2 separate regions of the Homo sapiens genome follow, and region 2 is linked to region 1. Evidence: promoter capture Hi-C in human tissues and cell types (Jung and others, 2019). All regions are on one chromosome and are shown on one strand. The core of a region is centred on a gene start or on the middle of the fragment in contact, and the rest is flanking DNA. Distances in the headings are between cores, read along the strand shown.

The links. The method cuts DNA at HindIII sites, captures the fragments that hold promoters and counts their contacts. A contact is called where the count stands out against the background at its distance.
Region 2: a fragment that was not itself captured here is called in contact with the fragment with the promoter of ZNF99 in region 1 in 4 of the 25 tissues and cell types used here (dorsolateral prefrontal cortex, liver, mesendoderm cells and 1 more).

What each region holds. Positions count from the first base shown.
Region 1 is chr19:22,781,021-22,788,166 of GRCh38, forward strand. It overlaps ZNF99 (zinc finger protein 99), which reads right to left and starts at 3,131. Exons shown (of 4, transcript NM_001080409.3): 1 at 2,994-3,131. The coding sequence starts at 2,996. The HindIII fragment of the contact is 12,356 bases long and covers 1-7,146 here.
Region 2 is chr19:22,819,473-22,826,618 of GRCh38, forward strand. It overlaps a transcript of ZNF723 not described here. Among named protein-coding and RNA genes, the nearest start is that of ZNF723, 9.2 kb to the right of the region's middle. The HindIII fragment of the contact is 3,491 bases long and covers 2,777-6,267 here.

The sequences.
Region 1 (7,146 bases), core at 1,881-4,380:
GAGAAAATTCCTAAAGTCATTCTGGGAAAAAGGTAAATGAAAATTTTTAACAAATGGAATATACAATTCAATATTAATTTTATTCTGAAACCCATCTCTTTTTTGCCCTTGGTTAAGTATTTTCTTACCTTTCAATCCCTACTAACAAAATGCAATTTACAGTTAAAAAACTGAGGTCAAAATAAGTGAACAAATCTTTTCAAGGTACAGATGTGTCTGATTCATGTGTCAAGTCAGGCCATCCAATCACTTAAGAGATTCTCCCACCCCATTCTCCTCACTTAAGTGCCCAATAACTCCTTCTCAGGAGACTCTGAACTATGCCCCAGTGAGTGCCCCAGGTAAGAACTTTTCAAGTTCTTACACCATCTCATTGGGGTCACTTTTTTTTTTTTTTTTTTTTTTTGTCGTTTGGGACACTATTTTTGATTTCACAGATTCTCACTATTTTTCTTTCACTATTTTTTCATTATATTTCACTATTGTTCTGCTCCCTTAAAGAATGCAGGGGGCAGAAATTATTTCTGTGTTTTCCCCGCAATACCAGCATCTGATTGGCTGACCAGCAATGTGTCTTCAAAAAATGGAAGCTGGGTTGGGTGAAGACAATCTTAATGTCTCAAGGGTTAGCTTTTCAAAGGAAGAGTATACCAGGAGAGACCTCTCAACCCCAGGGCATCTGCCTTCTTCGTTGAAAGGCTACACTCCACACCTCAGGTTGTCCTACTGGAGAAAATGACCAGGAGCTGATATTCACTAGACACTCTAGCAGACATAGCCATGGGGAATATTTTAGCTAATTCCCAGACAGTACTGAAACCCAGGACCAGGGAAAAAACTGAAGAATGGCTGAAAACACATCATAAAGTTTCCAAAGGAAAACCTTTACCTTTACCCCAAAACATTCTGCTAAAATCTGTGGAGCAAGGAGGAAAAAAAAAAAGCGGCACAAAGATTTTTTACAACACAGTGTCAGGGGATTATTTTTTGCTTTCTTCTCTTAGGAAATATTCACAAACAGAAAACAAATATTATGAAAAGTACCATCCAATGCTTTGTTAAAAAATAAAATACAGTATCAAAATGTACACTAAGGACAAATAGTAATGTGAATCAGAGAGGGAAAATTGACATTATGAACTGGAAGTTTAGTATTTTATTGCAAGCCAGAGTTAGGCTGCAGGAATTGGGGTTTGGGAGTAGACATAATACTCTGCTTGAGATACCTGTAAAAAATGGAGGGGAAAATCAGTCATCTGAGGAGTGTGAAAATAATTAAAAATAATTAAGTGGCAGGCAAATAGACTGAGGTGGCTCTAGTGCCTGATATCTACTTTTTTTTTTCTTTTTTTTTAAGACAGTTTCGGTCTTGTTGCCCAGAATGGACTGCAATGGCGCGATCTCGGCTCACCGCAACCTCTATCTCCCGGGTTCAAGCAATTCTCCTGCCTCAGCCCCACGAGTAGCTAGGATTACAGGTACAGGCATGTGCCACCACACCTGGCTAATTTTTGTATTTTTAGTAGAGATGGGGTTTCTCCATGTTGGTCAGGCTGGTCTTGAACTCCCGACCTCAGGTGATCCGCCTGCCTCGGCTTCCCAAAGTGCTGGGATTACAGGCATGAACCACCGCACCTGGCCTTTTTTTTTTTTTTTTTTTTTTTAATATGAGAGGGAGTCTCCCTCTCTTGCCCAGGCTGGTGTGCAGTGGCGCAATCTCAGCTCACAGCAACCTCTGCCTCCCGGGTTCAAGCGATTATCTGCCTCAGCCTCCCGAGAAACTGGGATTACAGGCATCTGCCACACTCCCGGCTAATTTTTGTATTTTTATTAGAGACGGAGTTTTACCATGTTAGCCAGGCTGGTCTAGAACTCCTGACTTCGTGATTCACCCGCCTCGGCCTCCCAAAGTGCTGGGATTACAGGTGTAAGCCACCGAGCCAGGCCTGATAATCTACTTTTTAAAAAATCTAATTCGGCCGGACGCGGTGGCTCATGTCTGTGATCCCAGCACTCTGGGAGGCGGAGGAGGGCAGATCACCTGACGTCGGGAGTTCGAGACCAGCCTGACCAAAACGGAGAAACCTCGTCTCTACTAAAAACACAAAAATTAGCCGGGTGTGGTGGCGGATGCCTGTAATCCCAGCTACTCGGGAGGCTGAGGCAGGAGAATCGCTTGAACCTGGGAGGCGGAAGTTGCGTTGAGCCGAGATCGCGCCACTGCACTCCAGCCTGGGCAACAAGAACAAAACTCCGTTTCAAAAAAAGAAAGAAAAAAATATTAATAATTCAAGTGCTTTTTTTTTTGTAAATTACTACATTGGGGGAAACAAAATTCAGGCTTAACCAACTATAAACTACAATTAACCTCTGATTATATAAACGGGAAATTTCCATCTTGATTGTACAAATTAAGAATCTACGTAACTGTACATAACCCATTACTGAATTTGGTTTTCTTCATTATGCACCTTATAAAACTCTTTCCGTCAAATCCCTTCCATAGACCATAAACTACAAACCACAGCTGGGTGCTCTGCCATTTTTGAATCACTCTTTGATTAAATCCTTTATTACTTTAGTGATGACTGCCATCAATTTTTAATAGGAGAAAAGAGGGACTGGAAACCTCACTGGACCAAAGCTCTTCCCATTCATGAACCCGCACCCGGAGTCAGGATTCTCCCCTGACGCCCCTCCCGTGGTCCCTGCACAATCTGTGAGAGAGGAGGCGCTGCGGGTGAAGAGCGGCCCAGAGAGGGCTCCAGGCCAGGGCATAGTCACAGTGCAGGAAGGAGGCAGGTCGCCCGGGGTCCCGCAGTCAGCGCAGCCGCCATCTTATGGCTGAAGGAGACTGAGGCCGAGCTGGGCAAGAGCTCGGGGCGCAGACTGTGGAGCTCACTGAGGGGAGGCCTGAGTCCCGCCACAGCCACTTTCCACCGGTTCCAGTCAGCCCCTTCCCCTTCTCAGGATATCGGACCCGGCACTCTCACCATTTCTAAGCTTCCAGGGGGTCCTGGCGTCCTAGCTGTGGATCTCCAAATACCTACAGGTCACAGGGCCACAGAGGCTAAGGACACAGAGCAGTAAAAACGAGATCCGGAGCTCCAGCTGGAACCAGAAACAACGGCCCCGCCACATCCCACAAGCCGCCCTTTCCGCTCCAGCTGAGTGCCTGATTGGACGGTTCCCAGCCCAGAGTCCCTGATTGGATAATGTTTAAATCCCCGCCTCCTCAGGCCCTGAGTGACAGAAGATGTGATCTGATGCTGAGCTGAATGAAGAGTGACGGGCCGGGCGCGGTGGCTCACGCGTGTAATCCCAGCACTTTGGGTGGCCGAGGCGGGTGAATCACCAGAGGTCAGGAGTTGGAGACCAGCCTGGCCAACATGGCAAAACCCGGTCTCTACTAAAAATAAAAATTAGGCTGGTGTGGTGGCGGGCGCCTGTAATCCCAGCTACTCCGGAGGCTGAGGCACGAGAATTGCTTAAACTCAGGAGGCGGAGGTTGCAGTGAGCCGAGATCGCGCCAGTGCACTCCAGCCTGGATGACAGAGCGAGATTCTGTCACGAAAAAAAGAAAAGAAAAGAAAAAGAAAGGAAAGGATGACAGTCTAGGCTGCAGCCTTTTCAGGCAGGGCTTCCTTCCTGAACTGAGCCAGGCCAACCCCAGAGGGTATTTGCATTTAACCTTTTGTATAAGGTCACATTCTTTTATAAATAATATATTATATGGTTATTCACAAATGAAAAGAATATAACAATTATCTAAAATTTTCAGAGTTTATGACCTTCCTGGCTTCTGGTTTTTTCATCAGATTGCCTGAGGTTTTAAAAAGAAGGCAATCCTCTGAAATAAAATTGTATTTTAAATTTTCTAGTAGCCAAACTTTAAAAATTAAAAAAAAAAAAAACAGGTGGAATTTATTGTAGCAATTTAATTAACCCAATATATCCAAAATATCATCTTAATACGTAAGCAAAATGTAAATTATAAATGAAGTGTAGATATTTTTTGGAACTTCATCTTTGAAACTAACTCTGTATTTTACCTTTCCAGCACATCACAGTTCAGACCAGCCACATTCCAGGCACTCAGTCGCCACACATGGCCAGTAGCTGCCACATTGAAGTGCAGCTCTGACCTTAGGAGAGGGAAGGGCCTGAACAAACCTTTTCTGCCAAAGATGGAAAAAGAGCCTTTCCCTACCAACATCTCTCTTCAGCTCTGAGGGAGGAACAGATAGTAGCCATAAATAAAGCACAGGACAGCAGGAAAAAACAACCACAGGTAGACCACTGCTGGCCACCTGTTGCCTACCTTTATTCCAGAGATCAGAAGGTGAACTAAGGATGGTAAGGCCACAGGAGAAGAAATCTCTGTGTCTTCAAATCTGTGCACAGTCTTGACCTCCAATGTTTAGATATGAAGAAAATAGATTAAAGGAAAACTTACTTTTCTATTTGTCCTTGGCCCTAATGGTCAGGCTGTGGTTATCTGTTTTCTCCTGTGGTATGGGGGACTGTGTGAGTATAGGCACCAATTACATGCATACATGTCCACATATATTTCTGCATTACTCAGCATTCTCTTACGAGGCCTCCAACTTTATATCAGGGGAAAAATCAGTACCTATAGGGTACCCACTGTTAGAAGAGAACTAGTAATCAACTTGTCAATGAATCCTGGCATCCTATCTGCACTGGGTGCATGTATTAATTAGCTATTGCAGCACAACAAATCATTCAAAACTTATTTGCTCATAATTGAGATGGTCAGCTATTTAGGGTGGGCTCAGTGAGGCTGTTCTTTTTGTCTCAGCTGAGCTCCTCCAGACATGTATCTTCAGCTGTTTGTTGAATAGGCAGCTGTGCTTCTGGGGATGAGCTTCTGCTTCTGGGGCTGTCAACAGGGGCAACTTGCTTCTCCTCCCCATGGTATCTTATCCTCCAGCTGGCTAACATGGGCTTTATTCATGGAGATGGCAGCATTCTGAAAGAAAAACAGAAGCATTCAAGACCTTTTGAGCCTACGCCCCAAACTAGTACATTGTCATGTTCACAGGTTTCTACTGCCCTGAGTGAATAAGGCCAGCAAAATCTAGGGTTTGAAAAGCATTCTGGATCTTGATGGGAACAGCTTTAAAAGCACCTACAATGGGCATGGATACAGGAAAAACTAGAAATTGCTACCATTTTTGAAATCAGTATCATTCTGCCTTTGTTTATTTGTTTGTTTGTTTTGCATATGTGGTTTATAGAACTCTTTCACATCAAGAATCTTGTCCAAAGACACACAGCTACTAAGTGGCTGGGCTGAGACTCAGGATCAACTCTGTCTGACTCCAAAGCCCACACACCTCCATAGATGACACTACTAAAGTAGCTGCCCTAGACCCTTGAAGTGTCCTGGAGGGTGACACTTCCACAGTAGAAGCCAGATTCCTTTTATTTTTTTTTTATTAATCTATTTCACTTCTTTTGAGACAGGGTCTCGCTCTGTCACCCAGGCTGGAATGCAGTAGTGCAATCTCGGCTCACTGTAACATCCTCCTCCCAAGTTCAAGTAATTCTCCTGTCACAGCCTTTCAAGTAGCTGGGATTTCAGGTGCTTGCCACCACACCTGACTAATTTTTGTATTTGTAGTAGAGACGGGGTTTCAGCATGTTGGCCAGGCTGGTTTCAAGCTCCTGACCTTAAGTAATCTGCCTGCCTTGGTCTCCCAAGGTTCTGAGATTACTAACATGAGCCACTGTGCCCAGCCTACATTCCTTTTACATTTGTGCCAATATAGTACTGTTTATCATTGGGAATAATCCTCTCAAGAATTTGCAGAAGTGCACAGTGGCTCACACCTGTAAACCTAGCATTTTGGGAGGCTAATGTGGAAGAATTACATGAGCTCAGGAGTTCAAGTGCAGGCTGGGTAACATAGTAAGAACCTGTCTTCACAAAAAAAAATTTAAAAATTAGCCGGACATGGTGGTACATGCCTGTAGCCCCAGCTACTCAGGTGGCAGAGGCAGAAGGATCGCTTCAGCCTGGAGGGTCAAGCTGCAGTGAGCCATGTTTGGATACACCACTGCACTCCAGCCTGGGTGATAGAGTAAGATGTTGTCTCAAAAAAAAAAAAAAAAAAAAAAGAATTTGCCAAAGCATTTTAAAAAGACATAGAATACTGGCCGGGCATGGTGGCTCAAGCCTGTAATCCCTGCACTTTGGGAGGCCGAGGTGGGTGGATCACCTGAGGTCAGGAATTCAAGACCAACCTGGCCAACATGATGAAACCCTGTCTCTACTAAAAACAAAAAAATTAGCCAGGCGTGGTGGCGGGTGCCTGTAATCCAGCTCCTCAGGAGGCTGAGGCAGAAGAATCACTTGAACCCAGGAGGCAGAGGTTGCAGTGAGCCGAGATTGCGCCATTGCACTCCAGCCTGGGCAACAAGAGCGAAACTGCATCTCAAAAAATAAAAAAAAAAGACATAGAATACTTTGTGTTTGTAGCTGATGGATAAGTTTAGAAAATCGAAACCCAACAACAGATTATTTTTCATCACAGAAAAAATTTGAAAACTTTTAAAAGAAAAATACTTTAGAGAAATTAAATTTAAAAGAGTTTAAATGGGCAAAGAATGATTTGCAAATTGGGCAGCCTGTGGAGCCAGAGTAGGCTCAGAGAGACTGCAGCATAGCCACATGGTGGAAAAAGATTTATGGACAGAAAAAGCAAAGTGACATACAGAAAATGGGGGTGAGATACAGAAACAGCCAGATTGATTACAGCTTGAGATTTGCCTTACTCAAACATGGTTTAAACAGCTGATGTTGTTTTATTGCCAAAAACACAGTAGTTGGTAGAAGAGTGGGTTACAGTCTATTCACATATCCAGTTAGGTTTCAGTTTACTATGTACAGAAAACCTATTGACAAAAATTAAACAGAAAAGACGGCAGCTTTAGGCTATAACTGATTTAACAATTTCTCCCTTTTGGTCATCTTCTCAATTTTGAGAGATAAACCAAAACTTTAGACATTGATAGCACTCTGTCACCATCAAAAGTGTACTTATTTAGTCTCAAATCCCACTGTGAAATAGCAGAACTGTGGGTTTTGTAAAGCGAAAACAAGGACTTCAGGTTATTATT
Region 2 (7,146 bases), core at 3,272-5,771, 40 kb after region 1:
GGTGATATGACTATAGTTTTCTTCCTAGGACCTTTTGACAGGACTGTGATATGTCACTTGGCCCAGCACCTATGTGATGTGACTGCTCTCATAACTGACCCCTGCCATCTAGGGTGATTTTGACATACAGCTGATCCCAGTTTTTAAATTATGGCACTCTTTTTTACTTTGTGAGTCCTGACCACAGAAAGCATTGCAACATATCTCTTGGCCTCTGACGTACAATATGTAACTATCCTGCCTAAAACCTATTTTCAGGGGGTGTTGTAACATATTGCTGAACCCACCATCTAGGTGATGTGACTGTCCCATACTGGATGGGCTCTGAGCAAAATGGGACTGTGATGTATCACTAGGGTCAGCACCTAAGTGAAGTGATTCTCCTCTTTTTCCCAGGCCCTGCATACATTGTGTATTGTGACATATGTGTGGGTCAAACACCTAGGTGATTTGACTCTTCTGCCTGGAGCTTTCATACAGCATACTATGACATGTCTTTTCATTTATTACCTGTGTTATGTGACTCTCCTTTTCTGCCTGGGCCATGCCAAAAGGGGGGATTGTAACATATCACTGGACCAAGCACCCAGGTGATGTGACTCTCCTATTTTATCCAGCCCCCACATATTTTTAGTATTCTGATACATGGCTGGGCCCAACACCTAGGGGTTGGAAATCTCCTTTCTCTGCCATGCTCACAGTGGACCTCATGACATATCTCTGCACGTGTCACTTAAAAGATGTGACCCTTTTCTGCCTGCACGCTGCCCATAGGAAAAATTGTGAAATACTCATGGGCCCCCAAACCAGGTGGTGTGTCTCTCCTGCCTAGGCCTTGTTCACAGGGAGAATTGTGACATATCACTGGACTCAGCACCCAAGTGATTTGACTCTGCTGCCTGTGCCCTGCTTTCATTAGAGGATATTCACATATCCCTGGCAGAAAACCAGATGATGTGACTCTTCTTCCGGGTCCCTTCTCTCAGAGAATATTATAATATATTCCTGACTCAAGACCCAGGTAATGTGACTCTCCTGCTTCCTTCCTATCCACAGGTGGGATTGTGACATATGTCTTTGTTCAGATCATAGATGCAATAATGACTCTAATACCTCAAACCATCCAATAAGAGATATACTGTCTCTTCTAGCTAGGTTTAGAGAAACAGGTAAGATCCTGGGTCTCCTGTTTGCATAAAAATAATATCAAATTACCACTCTCTTGCTTATGGTATAAAGCAGTTTGATGGGACAGAAAGTGTCATCATATGGTCCAGCACGGCACACACGTGATACGGTGTTTCTCATATGCACACCCTGTGAACCATTAGAACTGTCACCCTTACATATGAACAGAGCCCACTTTTGAGAACACAGGTAAAACTGTGACTCTCCTATGCACACTCAGCCAACAGTAAACATTGTCACCCTCCTAAATGGAAACCATCCACTGTTGAGGCTGTGAATCTCCCACGTGGAGGTAGTCAAAAGTTGGAATTGTGACTCTCATACATGGATCTTGTCCATAGGTAGAATGGTAACTCAATGAACAGGATTCAGCACAGCTGTGAGGCTGTGATTCAGATATTGAGACTCAGTTTGCATTTGAAATTGTGTCTTCACGCAGGAATACAGTCCACCATTAAGACGGTGACTCATGTACTTGGACCAAACATAAAGAAGGTCTTGACTTTCATACCTGGAGCCAGAAAATGTATGGAATTTTGAATCTCATTTCTGGACCTGCTTGCAGGCGTGATTGTGACATATACCTTGGTCCAGCACCTGAGTGATTTGACTATCCTGCCTGGGTAAAGCCTCAAAATGGAATTGTGACACATGCCTGGTGCAAGCATCTAAGGTATTTTACTCTCCTGCGTAGACCCTGTCCTCAGGGAGAATTGTGACATCCTGCTGGACCCATCGCCTAGGTTATATATTCTCTCCTGCCTGGGCCCTTTACACAGGGTGGATTGTGACATATTGCTGTGTCCTGCATGCAGATAATGTGACTTTCCTGCCTGAACCCTGCCCACAGAAGGCACTGTGAAATACTCCTGGGCCCAGTACCCAGGTTATGTGACTTTACTGCCACAGCCCTGCCCACAGAGTGGACATTGACGTATTTTTGGTCCAGCATTCAGGTGATCTGAATCTCTTGCCTGCTCCATTCACACAGCTTAAATTTAGACATATGTATTTTCAAGCTCTTAGACATTATAGTCAAGCTTATATGGGAACCCAGCCAATAAGAGTAATTTTGACTCTCTTAGCTAGATTTTGGACAGTGGGTAGAGTCCTGGATCACCTACGTTTAGAAAGGTCACAGAGGTTTATAAAATTTATGCATAATTGGCCAGGTGCAGTGGCTCATGCCTGTAATCCCAGTCCTCTGGGGGGCCAAGGCGGGTGGATCACCTGAGGTCAGGAGTTCAAGACCAGCCTGCCCAATATGGTGAAACCCCATCTCTACTAAAAATACAAAAAATTAGCCAGTTGTGGTGGTGTGCGTCTGTAATCCCAGCTACTCAGGAGGCTGAGGCAGGAGAATCACTTGAACCCGGGTGGCAGAGGTTGCAGTGAGCTGATATCATGCCATCGTACTCCAGTCTGGGTGACAAGAGCGAGACTCCATCTCAAAAAAAATTATGCATACTTTAGAAATACTTTGTGTGCTACAGAGAATGTAATAATAGGGTCTACCACACAGGTAAGATTGTGACTTCTCACAGGCATACCAAGCCAACAATTAGGATTGTCACTTCCAAACATGAAAGAAGCACACTGGTGATGTCCTGAACCTCACATGCAGATGCAGTTCACAGTTAAAATTCTGACTGTCATATGTAAATCTGGGAACAGGTTGAATAGTGACTGATTTCTGGACCCAGCTCAGAGGCACAGTGATTAGTTGCATTACCTGGACCTAGCCAATAGGAGATATGTTGACTCTTATAGGTAGCCTTCAAGCAATGGGCAAGGTCCTGGGCTTTCTACTTGTATGAAGGTCACAGAAGATTGTAAAACTCATGCATGTTGTATGATCCCTTCCAATGGTACAGAGAGTGTCATAACAGTTTCCAGCACACAGTTAAAATTGTGATTCTCAGCTGGGGGCAGTGGCGCATGCCTGTAATTCCATCAGTTTGGGAGGCCGAGGCAGGCGGATCACGAGGTCAGGAGATCAAGACCATCCTGGCTAACATGGTGAAACGCTGTCACTACTAAAAATACAAAAAATTAGCTGGGTGTGGTGGTGGGTGCCTGTAGTCCCAGCTACTCAGGAGGCTGAGGCAGGAGAATTGCGTGAACCTGGGAGGCAAAGCTTGCAGTGAGCTGAGATCGCGCCACTGCACTCCAGCCTGGACAACAGAGTGAGACTCCATCTCAAAAAAGAAAAAAATTGTGATTCTCATAGGCATACCCTGCCAACAATGAGGGCTGTCATTCTCACAAATGGAAAAAGACTTCTGGTTTGGTCCTAAATATCACATGTGGATGCAGTCCACAGTTGAAATTGTGACTGTTATATTTGGATCTGGCCACAGGTAAAATGGTGACTCACTTCTGTATCCAACTCACAGGCATAGTGAGAACTCTCACACCTGGATCTAGCCAATAAGAGAGATGTTAGCTCTCATTCCTGGGCTTAGGACAATGGGTAAGATTATGAGTTTATACCAGCACATAGATCCAAGAGTGGGTTGTGGCTCTCAGGCATACCGTATAAAGCCCTCAGGTGTCACCAAGAGTGTGGTAACAGGGCCCAGTGCACAGGTGAGATAGTGACTCTGGTATGCACGCCCAGTTCACAGTAAGAATTTTCACCTTCTTAAATAGCCACAGTCCACTGTTGAGGTTCTGAATCTCAAACTCAAAGGAGCTGAAAGTTAGAATTGTGACTCTCATATGAGGATCAGGTCCACAGACGAGATAGTGAATCTTGGACCAACATTCAACACACCGGTGAGGCTGTGACTCTTCTACCAGGACACAGTCTAAGAATTGAGGCTGTCATGCACAAATCCAGTCTACTATTGAGATTCTGACTCGCATACTTAGACCAAACACTCAGAAGATCTTGACTATGATCTCTAGAGCTGGAAGTGTTTGGGATTGTTTATCTCATCCCTGAATCTTTCTGCAGGTGTGATTGTGGCATATGTCTTTGCCCATACCCTGAGTGATTTTAGTTTCCTGCCTGAGCCCAGCCCATAGATGGAATTGTGACATATACCAAGGCCAAGCACCAAGGTAATATGACTCTTCTCATCTGCCTGAACCTGTCACTTAGAAGTAATTGTGACATATTTCTGAATCCAGCACGTGGGTGATGTGACTCTCCTCTTGTGCCTAGGCCTTGCCTACAAGAAAGATTGTGTCATATCACTGAGCCCAGCACCTATGTGATGTACTTCTTCTGCCATAGTTCTCCCCACATAAGACACTGTGACATATTTCTGGGCCAATTACATAAGTTAAATGAGTCTTTGCTTATGCCTGGATCTCACCCTCAGAAGAACTTATGACATGTTGCTGGACCCAGCACCTAGGTAATTTGAGTCTTCTCTGCTGCCTGGCCCCTGCCAACAGAAGGGATTTTAAACTATTGCTTAAACTAGCACATAAATTTTGTGACTCACTTCTTTTGCTAAGCCCTGCTAACCGTGGGAATTACAACATATTGCTGAAACCAGGATAATGCAACAATCCTCTCTTGCCTGGGCCTTGCCCACAGTGGGCATTGTTACATATTACTGGGCCCATCTTCTAAGTAATGTGACTGTCCTCTTCTGCTTGGGACCTGCAACATGAAAGACTGTGGAATATCGCTAGGCCCAGAACCCAGTTGGTGTGACTCTCTTCTTTCTTGATCCTGCTCATAGTGCAGATTGAGATATTCCTGTCCTAGCATCCAAGTGATGTGACTCTTCTTCCTGGTTCCTAGCTACAGGTGGGATTGTGACATATGCCTGGGACGTGGTCACTGGTACAATGATGACACCCACAAACTTCAACCCACAAACCAGGAGAAATATTGATTCTGTCTGCTAGGCTTTGGGCAACAGGTAAAGTCTTCGTCTGTTACTTGCATGAAAGGTCAGAGAAAATTACAATACTCATGCAAATTGTATAAAGCTTTCAGCTGGTGCAGAGAGTGTCATAACAAAGCCCAGCACACAGGTGAAATTTTGACTCTCAAATGCACACCCAGCCAATAGTTAGAATTTTTACCCACACACATGTTTTTAGCCTACAGTTAAGGTCCCAAATCTCACATGTAAATGCTGTTCACAGTTGGAATTGTGACTGGTATATGTGGATCTAGCCACAGGTAGGATGGTAATTAACTTCTGAACCCAACTGACAGGTGTAATGATGACTCTAATACCTGGATGCAGCAAATTAGAGAGAGGTTGACTCTAATACCTGTGCTTAGGGCAAGGGTACAATCATGGGTCATAACAGCACAAGAGTCTCAGAGCAGATTGTGACTCTCAGGAATATTATACAAAGCCTTTGAGTGGTACATGGAATGTCATAGCAGTACCAATCACGGAGGTGACATTGTGATTCTTATATGCACACCCACCCAAATGTAAAAGTTGTCACCCTCCCACAGGGACACTGATCACCTTGAGGTTCTGAATCTGACACTAAGAGGCAATCGAAAGTTAAAATTGTGACTCTCATATGTGGATCCCATCCACAGGTGGGGTAGTGACTCTTGAGAAAGAATTCAACATGCCGGTGAGCCTGTGACTTTCATACCAGGACACCGTCCTTGGGTGGGATTGGGACTCTCATTCACAGATCCGATATATCATTGAAATGGTGAGTCCTGTACTTGCACATAACTCACAGGAGATGTTGACTCTCATAACTAAAGCTGAGACATGTGCAGAATTATAAATCTAACCACAGAAGCTTCATGAATGTGTGATTTTTACAGACCTATTTGCCTAGCATTTGAGTAATTCCACTCGTCTGTGTAGGCCAAGCCCTTAGATGGTGTTGTGACATGAATTGAGTCAAGAATCTAGGTGATGTAACTTTCTTTCCTGGGTGCTGCCCTCAAAGGAGATTTTGACATATTGCTGGGCCCAGCACATTAGTGATGTGATTCTTTTCTCCTGCCTGGTTCCTACACACTGGGAGCATTGTGGCATATCACTGAGCCCAACACCTAGGTGATATGACTCTCCTCCCATGTCTGGGCCCTGCCCACATTAGGGATGGTGACATATCACTGGGCCCAGCACCCAGGTGAAGTGAATATCCTCTCCTGTTTGGCTTCTGCATACAGGGGCATGGTGACATACTGCAGTGCCCAACATTATGATAATGTGATTTTACTGCATGGGCAGTGTTCACAGGATGGTATTGTGACATGTAAGTGGACCCAGCACCTAGATAATGTGACTCTCCTCTCCTGCCCAGGCCCTGCTTATAGAGCAAATTACGACATATTGCTGAGTCTAGCACCTGGGTGATGTGACTCTCCTGCCTTAGCCTTGCTCACAGGGGACATTTTGACATATCTTTGGGTTCATCACCTAGATGATGTGACTCTCTTCTTCTGCCTGTGCTTTACCCACAGGAAAGCTTGGATCATATCACTGGGCTGAGCATCCAGGTAATCTGATTCTGTTTTTGAGCCTTGCCCACTGGGGGCATTGTGACATTTCACTAGGCCCAGCATTTAGGTGATGTGACTCTCTTGCCTGGGTCCTGCCCATAGGGGAACTGTGACATATTTCTGGTCCAGTGCCCAGGGGATGTGATGCTCTAGCCTGGTCTCTGCTCCCAGGTGGAATTGTGACATATACCTATGCCCGGCTAACAGGGATGAAGATGACTCTTGTACCTGGACTCAGCTAATAGGAGAGATTGTAACTTTCATAGCCAACATTAGGGCAACCAGTAATGTCCTGGGTTTCCTAATTGTATGAATATCAAAAAGGATTACATCACTTACTCATATTACATAAAGCAGTCAAGTGTACAGAGAGTATTATAACAGGGCTCAGCACAGAGGTGAGATTGTGACTTTCATATGCACACCCAGGCAACAGTTATAACTGTCACTCTCTCACATGGACACAGCCCACTGGTAAAATCCTGAATCTGACTCATGAACACAGT